Linked DNA regions of Homo sapiens: all the other regions are linked to region 4. The links are contacts of gene promoters, found by promoter capture Hi-C in blood cells and fetal thymus (Javierre and others, 2016). All regions are on one chromosome and are shown on one strand. The core of a region is centred on a gene start or on the middle of the fragment in contact, and the rest is flanking DNA. Distances in the headings are between cores, read along the strand shown.

The links. Contacts are between HindIII fragments. The CHiCAGO score rates a contact against its expected background, and 5 or more counts as called.
Region 1: a fragment that was not itself captured here is called in contact with the fragment with the promoter of ARHGAP24 in region 4 in 1 of 17 cell types (total B cells); the score reaches 5.2 in total B cells.
Region 2: a contact is called between a fragment that was not itself captured here and the fragment with the promoter of ARHGAP24 in region 4, in 1 of 17 cell types (total B cells). The highest score is 5.1, in total B cells.
Region 3: a contact is called between a fragment that was not itself captured here and the fragment with the promoter of ARHGAP24 in region 4, in 1 of 17 cell types (total B cells). The highest score is 9.3, in total B cells.
Region 5: a contact is called between a fragment that was not itself captured here and the fragment with the promoter of ARHGAP24 in region 4, in 2 of 17 cell types (total B cells and naive B cells). The highest score is 13.2, in total B cells.

The regions. Positions count from the first base shown.
Region 1 is chr4:85,440,642-85,443,485 of GRCh38, forward strand. No RefSeq gene overlaps it. Among named protein-coding and RNA genes, the nearest start is that of ARHGAP24, 33 kb to the right of the region's middle. The HindIII fragment of the contact is 4,329 bases long and covers 1-2,844 here.
Region 2 is chr4:85,409,715-85,412,470 of GRCh38, forward strand. No RefSeq gene overlaps it. Among named protein-coding and RNA genes, the nearest start is that of ARHGAP24, 64 kb to the right of the region's middle. The HindIII fragment of the contact is 2,680 bases long and covers 114-2,756 here.
Region 3 is chr4:85,509,696-85,512,395 of GRCh38, forward strand. The region is part of intron 1 of ARHGAP24 (Rho GTPase activating protein 24); the gene reads left to right. Among named protein-coding and RNA genes, the nearest start is that of ARHGAP24, 36 kb to the left of the region's middle. The HindIII fragment of the contact is 2,625 bases long and covers 81-2,700 here.
Region 4 is chr4:85,473,809-85,476,574 of GRCh38, forward strand. ARHGAP24 (Rho GTPase activating protein 24) reads left to right here and starts at 1,342. Exons shown (of 10, transcript NM_001025616.3): 1 at 1,342-1,751. The HindIII fragment of the contact is 5,990 bases long and covers 632-2,766 here.
Region 5 is chr4:85,527,796-85,530,560 of GRCh38, forward strand. The region is part of intron 1 of ARHGAP24 (Rho GTPase activating protein 24); the gene reads left to right. Among named protein-coding and RNA genes, the nearest start is that of ARHGAP24, 54 kb to the left of the region's middle. The HindIII fragment of the contact is 3,597 bases long and covers 1-2,765 here.

The DNA of each region.
Region 1 (2,844 bases), core at 71-2,570, 33 kb before region 4:
AAAGAAGCAGACATGTACACTAATATCCTAAAACAATTATTTTGGCATTCTCCTGCCTCTCAAGCCAATATACATACTGAACATGATGATATCAATTAAAAAGTTTTCTCATGTATTTGTAACCAGTGAAGGCATTAACCCCCGAGAAGATATAGTCTTATAGCACCTAAAAACTTTTTAAGTTGCCTTAGACTGACATTTGCTGCAATTCTGAAGCATAGAAGTCATGAGGAACATGCAGTCATATTCTCTAAGATACTGTTTTCCAAGTCCAGCTGACACAGAGAGCAAAAATGAGTTAACATGGAGGTGGAGATTTTCATCCAGTCTTCCCACTATCCTTTCTATAAGGGTGAAAATGACTTTTAAGAAAGCTACTTAGCCAAAGCTAAAAGCATAGTTGTTTTGTCTGTATTTGGGAGGCCTTAGTTTACAACAGAATGGCAGCAACTGTGTTTGGCAAAGTAGTAGAGAAAGAAAGGCCATCTTTCATCTCGATTGTGAGGATATATCACTTGGAAGGCCATCTTGGTACTCCTTGCAGGATCCCACATCAATCTTTTGAGTCACATGTGGACTGAGATCTCAATGTGCTACCCAGCCGAGAGAAGATGGAATGGCCTTAAAACCTAAGGCAAATCAACAGACAACTAAAAAACTGAGATGATTTCTATAGCCATGTCCTTGATAGAAAAGAAAGTGGAGCAATAAAAACATTTTGAGTTGCAGTTTTTTTTTACTCTGTACTTTTGCATTATTAAAGTAAAATTATTCTATAGCAAATCACTTACAAGGAACTTCCTGTGCAATTATTAACATTTATTTTCTAAAACTGTAAAAATTCACAGACTCAGCATTGTGAGACCAGGCTCACTTATTCCAACAAATGGAAGATGCCACTCTTGACAGTCACAACGTGGCAATGATCAAATAAGGTTTAATTTTAATTGTGTTGCATCATAAAAGAGAGAGAGAGTTAAACATATATAGACTTGTAAATAATTGTCTGATTTTTTTGACATCTTAAATAATTTTACAAATGTATCAATTTAATTTGCTAATATAAGTTTTTTTTTAAAGAATATAGCTGTATTAATCCTCTCCCAGAAAGGATCATTTAAAAGGCATTCCTTGAATGCATTGAGTCTTTTTTCTGTTTGACAAGCAAGACCACTTTAGCTTGCAGAGAGGCATGATGAGTAGTGGTTACCAGCCTAGGTTGGTGCTATATTGCGGGTTTGAAACCAATCCACCTCTTAACAACAGTGAGACCATGGACAAGTTTCTTAATCTCTCTGTGCTTCATTCTTTCCATATGCAAGATGCGGATAAAAATATCTACCTATGGGTTCTATAATAGGGTTGTTATAAAAATAAAAAGAATTAGACAAAATATACCTAGAAAACTGCTAAACAAGTTATTACTATGACAACTAATCATTATTATTAGCTTTATCACTCAAGTGGTATGACAGAGTGAACTTCTCCTGAAATCATAGCACTCAACAGTATAAAGAAAAGAAATCCAGAGACAAATAGAAAGAAATCTAGTATACTATTAGCATTAATGAATAAAGACAATTTAGAGAGGGAATTTCATAAATCTTTGAGTGTTATTAAACATGGGGAATAATCGCAAAGGGGCCAAAAGACCAATTATGTTAGCATGTGACGTTGGATGGCTCTTTGGGAGAAACAAGCACACTTATTTATTCTCAGCTTTCTCCTTGAGGTACAAGTAAATGACAATTATATTTTGCACATACTGAATTCAGTATGTGAAAAAATATCTGCTTGTGTTTGGCTTCAAATTGACTTCTCCAATACCCTTAATCTTTATAATTTAGTAGCACTATTTAATTAATATTATTCCTTTGGAGACCTCCATTTTCTATTCTCTGTTTCTATTTCTAAATGTAGATGCAAATGTAGTTCTCTAAAGCCACATCTATTCAGATTCAAAGAGAAGGGGCTCAAAATTATTAAGTGAACACCTACTCTGATCAAGTTTGTTGCATACACTTTACATAAATTAATTTTATTTAAGTATTACAATAGCACCTGGACATGCCTATTATCATTTTTGGAATATTGGAAAATTAAGTAGCTTACTCAAGATCGCTCAAATAGAAGACGATGCTCATTCTGTTGATTGAACCAAGTTTGTTGATTGTAAATGCAGGGCAACTTTAATTCAACAATTGAATTCAAAAAGCACAGATTTTTAGACTCGGAAACTCTCAGTTTGTTACTTACTGTGTTTCTTTGGCAAGTCACTTGAACTTTCTATCTTTACTTTCATATTCTATTAACTGAAACAAAGACCAGCCACCCACCTAGTTTAAAGGATTGTTATGGGGATTAAATGAGGCAATAAATAGAAAATGCTTCAGAAACAGACAGAGTTGGTTTCAAATCCCTACTTTACCACTTAGGAAATTGGCCAAGTTATCTAAACTCTCTGTACCTACGTGTCTTGATCTGCAAAACTGGATGAATTGTGCCTGCTTTGAAAGGTATAGAGTCAATAATGTATGTTTCAAACCCCAACACTAGACCACAAACACTTAACTGTAGTGGTGGTTGGTATATTTCAATAATCTAAAACATGTAATACATGTAATTCCAGGGGCCCAATCCGCTCACACCTCTGTATAGTTTTTGAATATGAAAATTTGCAAATGTAGGCACATTTCTGAACAGATGGCAAAAATTAAAGTCTAAACTTCTCCCTATAGTTTGTATATAAATTGTCATAATAGATTTTTTAAGTCTAAAGACTAAAAACTATAATTTACATATAATACTTCAATTAAACCCAGCAAATGGAAAGGTTGTGACTTA
Region 2 (2,756 bases), core at 204-2,703, 64 kb before region 4:
CCATCTGCATCAGACACTAGGTATACATATTAGAAATGCAGAATCCTGAGCCCTGCTACAGATAAACCAAACTGGATTCTCAGAGATGAGTCTGGGAATTCACATCATTTACAAGCTTTTCTTTTGTGCATACTAGCTGATGTTGTAAGTTACATGTGGGCAGGTGCCATATCTGTTTCACTCATTGCTATGGTTTGAAGGTACATGTGTACCTTGTTTTATTGCACTTCACTTTATTGCACTTCACAGATGTTGCATTTTTTCCTTTTCTTTTTTCCTTTGCTTTTTGTACAAACCGAAGGTTTGTAGCAACCCTGCATCAAGCAAGTCTTTTGGCGCTATTTTTTCATTTCATCAGCATGGGCTCACTTTGTGTCTCTGTGTCAGATGATCGTTAGCATTTTTAGCAATAAAGTATTTTAAAATTAAGGTATGTACATTGCTTTTTAGACATAATGCTGTTGCACACTTAATAGACTACAGTATAGTATAAACTAACTTCTATATGCACTGGGAAATAAAAAAATTTTTGAGACTCACTTTATTGACACATTGTCTTTATTGAGAATGAAGAGGTGGTCTGAACTGAACCTGCCATATCTCCAGTGCATGTCTGTATCTTCTCCAAAATTCAGGTGTTGCAACTTAATGGCCAATGTGATTGTATTTGTGATTTGTATTAAGAGGTAGAGCCTTTAAGAGGTGATTAAGTTATGAGGGCTCCTTCCCTTGAAACCGAGATGAAGGCCCTTATAAAAGGCTTCGCACAGTGTTGGGTTAGCTTGCTTTTTGGTTTTCCACCAAGTGAGGACACGGCATTCCATCCCTCCAGAGGATGCAGTAATGAAGCACCATACTGGAAGTGGAGAGTGGCCCTCTTCACACAACCAAACCTGCCAGCACTCTGATTGTGGACTTCCCAGCCTCCAGAATAATAAATTATCCAATAATTACAGGTATTTTGTTGTAGCAGCATAGACTAAAATACTCATTACTCTAGCTCTAGTGACTAGCACATAGTAGACACTTAAGAATAATTTGTTGACCAAACAGTTCTCCTCCTACTTAATTATCTTTAATGTCTGAGGCAACTGATCAACCAACACTTCTGAAAAACTTAGTGAGAGTGTGTGGGCTCTGTCCTTCAATCTTAAGAGAGTCATTTAATACCTCTATGCCTAGATTTGCCTATCTGATAAAATGGAGAAGATACTACTACCTAACCCATCTTTGATTATGAGACTGAATGAGTTAATACATACAAAATGCTTAGAACAATGCCAAACAGTAAGAGCTCCATAGATGTAAGCCATGTAGTTGTTGGTATGTGCCAGACACATTCTTGGATGTTATCTGTTCTAGTCCTTTACCCTATTAGATTATTTTCATAGATGAGAAAACTAGATTAGTGACATTTTTAGTGACTTGTCCAAGTCACCAGTACTTGTAAATGTGGGGCTGGATTCAAACCCAGGTATCTGAGGATGTGAGGCTGGATTCAAACCCAGTTATCTGAGGATGTGAGGCTGGATTCAAACCCAGGTATCTGAGGAGCAAGCAGCCCAGTGCCTTTGACAATACATAGCTGCTCTCTCTCCCTTTCTCTCTAGTTCTCTTGCCACCTTGTTTGTATGAAAAGAATTGTGTTGTTTCCTAAACATTGACAGAATGTTATCAGGACTTGTCTTCCTATAGAACATAGGCCTACTCTACCATTTACGAATTGCTATCTGATCATCACTGCCATGGTATGCAATGAAAGAAAGAAAATTCATACTCATTCCTTTAAACCAGAGTTTCTCCAGTTGCAACAATATTGACATTTTGGGCTGGATAATTTTGTCATGGGCGCCGTCGAGTGCATGGCAGGATGTTTAACAGCATTCTTGCCTTCTACTCACAAGATGCCATTAGCACCACCTGGCCTGTGTGACAACCAAACATGTCTCCAGATATTGCCAAACGTCTCTTGGGAAGCAAAATCAGCCATGATTGAAATCCTGCTTTCACCAGTTCTATCTCATTCTGTCTCCCCCTTTTCAATCACCTCTACTTTGCTGTCTACTGTTGCCTCTTCTCTAGCTTCCCATTCAATCCCAGCACAGACAGAGGCAGTGGTCCCTTTCAAAACATATTTCTTCCTGGTGCCTGAATTCTACCACTAGAAGTTAAAGCGTAGCTTTGAAAAACCTTAAAACATGCAAATCTCTGGAAGAAATTACATGTAATCAATTATTAAATTATAATGATTTAGTCTTATTGAATCAGTTTTTTATTGAAAGTAGATGATAGGATAAACATGGGACACAATTATTTATATATATATTTTTCCAACAGCACTTACTGCAATGTTTTATGTATAGTACATACTTAATAATAGTTGTCGAATTAATGAATAGATGAATAAGTGAGTATTTTAAAGAATTATTAGAAGTGAAGACACTAAGAATAAACTGTTTTTCAAAAAGAAGTGAAGGAAAGCATTGTTAAAAATAATTTTATTTTTTTAAACAAAAGAGGACATCTAGATATGTTCAAATGAGCTAAAAATATATAAACCAGTGGAGAGGAAGATACTATAGATACAGAAAACAGTGATGTACTTGAAGGAGTCAGGTGCCAGAGAAAATGTAACAGCAGGATAAAGTTCCCAATCGGAAGAGTTATCTTTGCAAAGATGTATTTTCGGTGCTTTTCCTCTTTCAGAATAAAAATTATCTGCATTTTGCAAATAAATGCAGATTCCAGAAGAAATG
Region 3 (2,700 bases), core at 143-2,642, 36 kb after region 4:
TGACTTTCATTTTACTTAATTATGATGCTTTTCCTGGTTTGATTATATTGAAGAATGATTTCACTTTGTTTGAACCTGGAAGCTTTTCATGTGATGTTTAATTATGTTCACATTTATATTTATAATATGTAATATATACTTATAAATGGAATATATTACATTTAAAATGCCCCTTTTGTATTATCGGATGCTGTGATTCTGTTTATTACTAGGAAGTCCTGGTCCTAATAAATACAATATTTGAACAGCACAAAGATAGAGTGGTGGCAAGATGCGCCTCCATATGGATGCCCCTTGATCTTTACTATTCAGAAATAGTTCTCAAAGATCAAGCCAAAGCACACTTGGCTCTTGGCACTAAAGAACTTGGACTTTGAGAGTGATCAAGTATTGCATGTGATGTGGCGGCTCTTAAAAGGGACTCTTCAAAATAAAGTGACAGGAATATACACTGCTCTTTTGTTTCAGAGAAAAGACTTTGCCAAGATGAGAAAAATAAAAAATGAGAGTTTTATAAGAGTATTTTCCTCCATTGGGTTTTTGACCAGATACTTATCATTGTGAAAGTGCCATGGAATGTGTCTTATTTCATTCTGTGTCAGCTGGCACTAAGACCCTGAGGAAAATATTTGCTATGCATGCCAATGAACAGAAAGACCAAATTTCGCACCTTCACACATATTCAGCATATTTTCCCTCCTAATGTACCACTCCCCTTTCTTTCACTCCTTCTCTTTCCCTCTCTCTCCCTTTCTTTTTCTCCCTCTCTCTACCCGTTTGCCTTCTTCCCTTCTTTTTCCTTCTCTCCCTCCCCTCTCCCCCTCACTCTCCCAACCCCTTTCCCTCTCTTGCCTTCCTTTTTATCTCTTTCCTTCTCCTTCTTCCCTCCCCTCTCTCCCCCTTGTCTTCCCCGTCTTCCCCTCCCTCCCCTGTCCTTCCCAGGTTCTCCAGGAGCCTCCTCTCCCCTCTCCAGGCTCATTTTTTTTCCACTGCTCTATGTACCCTGCTTTTCCTCTTATGGTCATTTATTTCCTTGTCACCTTCATGGCAATAAGTCTTTAATACATTCCTCCTCCTCCTCCTCCCCCTCCTCTAGCCCCTCCCCTTCCTCCTCCTCCTCCTCCTCCTTCTCTCTCGCTCTCTCTCTCTTCCTCTGAGTCTCTATTCTCATCGCCATTACTTTCTTTGGAAAGGAGAACCCATGCCTCTGCTCTGGTAAAATGCTGGCTGCATAGTAACGGTATATTATGTAAACTTGTCTTGTTTACCCACCCTAGTATTAGTCTGTTTCTTCTAGAGGAGTTCTTATAGTATGGTAATTCAAATAAAGCCATCTAACGGCCACCCATAAAATACAAAGAATCCTTTTTGAAAATGAAAATTGCTTCAGAATAAATATTGGTTATTCCAGTAATTCAAAAGGATAGAATTAAGCTATTTTAGAAAACATTTTAAAATAATTACAAAAATTGTGCTTACCACAACTGAGGCAGAAAATAAGAATTCTGATTTTTTTAAAATCTGTCTTCTGGAGATCTTTATGTAACTTGGAATCTAATAAAATTGAAAAATTATATCTCTTCTATGTGTAATTAAATGTTTCTTTAACGATCTAGGAAAGACTTTCAACTGATGTGCCCTCCGAAGGCTTTGGAGTTAGGCACTGTATTAGTTTTCTAGGGTTGCTATAACGAAGTACCACAAACTGGGTGGTTTTAAACAAAAGAAATTCACTGTCTTTATTTTATTTTATTTTATTATTTTATTTTATTATTTTATTTTATTGAGATGGAATTTTGTTCTTGTTGCCCAGCTGGAGTGCAATGGTGTGATCTCGACTCACTGCAACCTCTTCCTCACGGGTTCAAACAATTTTCCTGCCTCAGCCTCCCGAGTAGCTGGGATTACAGGCATGCGCCACTATGCCTGGCTAATTTTTTTGTATTTTTAGTAGAGACAGGGTTTCTCCACATTGGTCAGGTTGGTCTCAGTCTCCCGACCTCAGGTGATCCACCCGCCTCGGCCTCCCAAAGTGCTGGGATTACAGGCGTGAGCCAACCCGCCTGGCCGAAATTCACTGTCTAATGGTTTTGGAGGTTAGAAGTGCAGAATCAAAGTGTCAGGAGGGCCACGCTCCCTCTGAAGCCTGTGGGGGAATCCTTCCTTTCCTCTTCCTAGTTTCTGGTGGTTTGCTGGAAATCCTTGGCTTGCAGCTGCATAACTCTAATCTCTGCCTTCATCATAACATGGTGCTCTCCCTGTGGGTCTCACTGTCATCACCCAGCCTTCTGCTTATGAGGACATCAGTCATGTTGCACTAGAGGCCATTCTACTCCCTTATGGCATCCGTTTAACTATGTTTGCCACAAACCTGTTTCCCAAATAAGGCCATATTCTGAGGTAGTGGGGGTCAGGACTTCAATGTATCTTTTGAGGGCACACAATTCAACCCATGTCCCATTCTGAGTTCAAGTCTCATTTCCTCCACGAAGTAACTATGTGACCTTTGTCAAATTACTTAGCCTCACTGAGCCTCAACTGTAACGTAGGTAATTCTAGTTCTCACCTCATACTGCTGTGAGGATTAAATGAGATAATGCTTAGTAAAATGCCTGGCACATAGTAAGTACAAGTATAGATTAGCCATTTGTTTAGTCACTATTATTTAGGTTGTTATTTTTATTGCTGCTCTAGTTAGAC
Region 4 (2,766 bases), core at 92-2,591:
ATTAATTTGATTCATTAAAGGGCTGAGAATTCTCCCACCAGAAAATCAAGTTTATAGTAGGACCTCAGCATGGGATGGGGTAGATTCGTTTCTCCAAGAACTTGGAGAAAGAGGACAAAAAGGAAAAACATATCAGTGTCCACTCAGCCTTTTATTTTTGGTGTTTCTAAAACTAAACATTTGCTCTTCTTCCATATCCCTCTCTCACTGGAGATCCCTAGTGAGGACACCCCCATTCTGTGTCTTAAGGATATCTGGTGATGATTTCTAAAAGAGAGTTTCTTTTATTAGTAGTAGCAGTAGTAATTGTTCGAGACGGGGGTGTCACTCCGTCACCTAGGCTGGAGTGCGCTGGCACAATTATAGCTCACTGCAGCCTTGACCTCCTGGGCTCAAGGGATTTTCCCGCTTCAGCCTCCTGAGTAGCTGGGACTACAGACATACGCCGCCACGCCCAACTTTTTTTTTATTTTTTTAATTTTTTTTTTATAGAGACAGGAGTCTCATTATGTTGCCAATTTTGGTCTGAAACCCCTGGGCTCAAGCGATCCTCCTGCCTCAGCCTTCCAAAGTGCTAGGATTGCATGACTGATCCACTGTAAGTGGGTTTCTAAAACAGAGATCTTTACAAAGCTTTTTGAAATAATTTGACTCAGCATGCCAGGTAACCAGAACTGTAAGATCACAATTTGAAACAGACATTGTGGTGATGGTGGGAAGAGACGGCCTGCATCAAAACAATGTTTACTAGTTTGTCCTTTTGTCCCATATTGTGTAACTCCGAGAGTTCTTACACCACCGTAAGAAAGTAATTATACTTTGAATTTCTCTAAGGCTCTAGTTAGAGAGCATCCATCTAAATGTGCATTTCCAGGAATATTGCTTTAATGGCCCAGGTAATTCTAATTGGAGAAATAAAATGTTAGCGAGACAGAGTTGGTAGAAGCAAGTAAAACCGGTGTATGGGGTTTGGCCAATGAAATGCAGAGCTCCTTGAGGGCAGGAGACATGTATTCACCAACCTTCTCGCGCCCACAGCCCCAGATCTGTGGCCAACAAGTATCTATGATGCACTTGAAAGGAACGAGCGATGCCAGATGCGGAGGAACCAGGCAGGGCGCATTCTGTCAGTGGCGCCAGGCGGTGTAGCTCCAGCTCTCAGATAACCCAGGCTTTGGGAGGGCGGGGCTCCTGCCGGCCTCCCCTGTAGTGCGGCTCGAGTCCTGTGAAGCTACCAGTTGCCAAATGAAATCTGAAACCTCGAGCTGTGTCTGAGGGTTGGCCCCACTCAGTTGTTCCAGCCTCTTGTACTGTATATTTACACATTCACACACAATCACCCTTTCTAACTTCTGGGACTCTTTGCGCAACTGCTAGGATTTCTCAAGTGCATGTGGCAACACAGCCCAGCTCCGGGTGGAAACCAGCAGGGCTCTGGAGGGGCTCGGAGACCAGGGGAGCTGTCAAGGCTGCGGCGGGGACCAGAGAGGAGCCTGGCGGGGGTGGCTGGGTGGCTGGGGGAATCCCCCCAACTTCCCATCGCAGGCGCAGCTCTCTCGGCCGCCTATTTCCTCCGAAACCCGCGCTGCGGAGCAGCCCAGTGCATAGAGTTCAACACTTCCCCTTGTTGTGGAAAGTAAAGGAGCCTCACTACCACCTTTTTTTCTTTGCGTTTTCTTACTGCTGGTCCTGGGAGCCTTTTCCTTCGGAGCAGCAGCCCTGTCCGGCATCTGTCTTGAGCTCCCAGCAAGGTAGGTGATGCGGTCGCGAGGAAGTGCGCGGAGCTACCGCGGGAAGGACGGACGCGGCTGCCTGCGCCAGGGGAGGGGGCTGCGGGGGGCGGGGAGGGGGCTGCGGGGGGCGGGGAGGGGGCTGCGGGGGGCGGGGAGGGGGCTGCGGGGGGCGGGGAGGGGGCTGCGGGGGGCGGGGAGGGATCGCAGGAATCCCGTGCTGATGTAGCCTGTCTGTGTTTGTGTGTGTGTGTGCGCGCGCGCGCATGTTTGTGCCGGGAGACAGCAAGCTGGTAGTATGTCTTTCTGGCTTTAAAAATAGATGGAATTAATAAAAACCCTTTGTACAATTCAATTTCCTCTCTTGGTATCCATCCTCCCCTTCCCCTTGTTTGTTTCCTCTAGTATCTTATAGGAGTTCCCTATGTAACAGGCGCACAAAGATAGGTTTTAATAATAAGCATATATATTTGCAAAAATATATATTTTATATGTATAAAATATGTTTTAAAATATTTATAAATATATTACATATTAGAAATATATATTATAAAATATATACATATATTTGTAAACACAAAACGTTAGGGAATCTTTGGTGAATTTGAAGCCACTCAAAAGATTTTGTCCAAATGTTTTTAAAAATAACATTTAATGATAAACATGTAATATGGTCTCGTTTTTAGAAAATACTTAAGACTACATTTATTTTATACGTACCCAAATAGAAGGGAGACAATGTTACTCTGAATTCCTTAGATAGATTTTCAGCATCAACCAGTAATAGGGAGCCCAGACTTCTTTGTAGACTATATCTCGTTTAATTCATTTGAATTAAACAAGTAATTTCTCCAAGTAATTTCTGTTTCCAGCACATTTTATGTTACTCTTTTTTTAACCTTCCACGGCATCATTGTTTCATCTCTTTCTAAAAAGGAAATAAATAAATCGTGCTGAGTATTTGGAATATAAAAGTTGTTAAGGCTTTGCTTATACATAAATACATAAATAAAACAATATGTGTTGCTATGTCTAC
Region 5 (2,765 bases), core at 41-2,540, 54 kb after region 4:
GACTCTTGAAATTTCACCTCATGTGCAGAATCCTCTCATTTGATCCAAGAAGTAGGTATGGATTTTTCTGCTACTCAGCATTGATAACAAACAATTAATTTCTTCCTCTGATTTCCTGAGACATATATTCAACGTTTGATTAGTACCTTTTATGTGTCAGGAACATAAGTGAATCTGGAATGAATTTCTCAAACACTGACAAAGGAGACAGGCATATAAACAATAGATTACAAAATGACAGGGTGAGTGCTACAATAGCAGTGTTATGTTTGTGCTGCATTGTAAAGACAATGAATAGAACACCTAACCCTGCGAGAGCTGAAGAATAGGACTGAAATAGAAAGGGAAGAGAATCACTGAAAGAAAGGACCAGTCCATACAAAGAAGAATGGAAAAAGACAGAGATTGGGTCAGATTGTAGCAGACACTGTATTCCACACCACATCAGTTGGGTTTATACATGATAATAATACATTGTGCTTAATGTAGGGCTGCATAGAAGGCAAGAAAAAAATATTAGCTATGATTGCTAAAAATATTATTGCTTATTTTTAATTGTAATAGCCCAATAAGAAATCAGGAGCCACTGGAGTTTTTTAAGGAGAAAAATTATGAGTAGGTATGTACACACAAAAAATTTCTGGTGTTAGTGTACAATATGGATTGGAGGGAGAAAGATGGGGATGGAAGATCAGATGGCAATTGTAACAACAATATAGGCAAGATGTAATTCGGTTTTGATGGCAGTTGCGAGAATTAACCTTTCTGTATCTCAGTTTCCTCATCTGTAAAATATGGGGATTAGAATTGCATCTAATTTATTGGGTTGACATGAGGATTAAGTGAGTTAATATTTTTCAAAGCTCTTAACAAACTATGTGTTTGTTAAGTAAAGTTCAAACAGATTAATATTGCGTGTCTGTCTTTTGCATATACATGAATCCTAGATTATTATAATTGGACATGTACTATCTCCACGTCATGTCCTCTGCATAGGCAGTAACAAAGAACTACTTGTTTCTGTTGATTATAATTATGATAATATTTCATTGATGCTTGTCTATTCAATACTATCAAAGATAGAGGTCAGTGTTGGTGTCTCAGACAAATACATAATATCATCTTGACTACTCTTGAGCTGATCATATTTCATTGATGCTTGTCTATTCAATACTATCAAAGATAGAGGTCAGTATTGGGATCTGAGACAAATACGTAATATCATCTTGACTACTCCTGAGCTGATCATGTTCAGTGGTAGCAAAATTCTTCTCATGTATATCCAGTAGTAGTCACTGTGGTACATCAGAGTACAAATATTTTGAAGGTATGTGCACATATAGTAAAAACTAATTTTTTTGTTGTCATCAAGGATTCTATTGAACTTGAATTTCTTCCCAGAAAGAGTCTATGACTATTCTAGGCTCACCAGTCATAAATCAAATTATAGCTTTTGACAAGTACATTGTGATAATGTTGTGGCATGCTACTCCTAAGTCTGATTAAATAAAGCACCTGTTCTTTATAAATCAATTTTGCTAAATTTTGGACTATGAAAATACTGGCTTAGCTTGGTCTGACATTCTGATTTTCAGTGTAAGATTATTGCTGATTAAGAATAAAATATTGCTGAAACCTGTCGGAGAACCTACTGAAGTTCAACTGGCCAGAAATTCTTTGCATCAGCCTTCCTTTGGCTTTTCAACACCATTTAGACATTCTGAATTAAGGTTTCTCAATCTCAGCATTGCTGATATTTTTGGCAGATAATTCTTTGTTGTTGGAACCAAACTGTTGGGTATTGTAGGATGTCAAGCATCATCCTTAGCCTCTATTCACTAGATGCCAGTAGAAACTCCCTTCCCAATGTGACAACCAAAAGTATCTCCAGATATTGCCAAATGTCCTCTGTGGAGTGGGAGATGTGACAAAATCACTCCTAATTGAACCATTATTCTAAATGATGATTAGCAGACAATAAAAATATGTCATTCTCCTGAGTTGTGTATCCCATTTGAATGGTCAGCAAAACCTGATGTGACATCTGGTTGACTATGAGGGTTATTCCTTTATTTCTGTATTCAACCATGCAAATATTGTACTATTTTAAAAAAAACTCTTTTCATTTTATTTCTTTTGAGAGTTGGTTAAGTCCATTCCTTTTATATTCATAATGTCAGATACTAGAGTGATATTCAATTAATATTTGTCAGATTTATGAATATATGGAGAAAATGGAGCTCACTCTCAGGTACATATATCTATGGTGAAAGTATTACTTTTCAGTTCTATTACAAAACAGATGTACTCTTAATTAAAAAAAATTGAAGTCCCATATACTCCTCCAAATCTAGTCAACAAGTAAATATTTTCAAGCTACTTTTAATTTTTGTTTTAAAAGTAGGAGACTAGTGGGTATAAAATAGTAAAAGAGCATTAGATATGAAACCTATGAGTTCACAAATATATACTTCACTTTCCAAATGAATGAGAATTACGATAAACTGTTAATTCATCCACACAGAGTGGCACTACCTTATCATCAGAACTTCCCGTATCTGGATATTTGGTCTTGACTGTTTCACTGCGATATTCAGCTATTGCAAGAATATTTTCTTCACCTCTTCCACTGGTTCAAAGGGGTTCTTACTTTGGAGGTCTTCTAGAACACCATGCCTCAGTGCTCTCTACTGTATGTTTTTAATACCCTCATTTTTCAGGACAAAGGTATTTGGAAAGCATTTGTCGACTGTTTTTCCAATAAA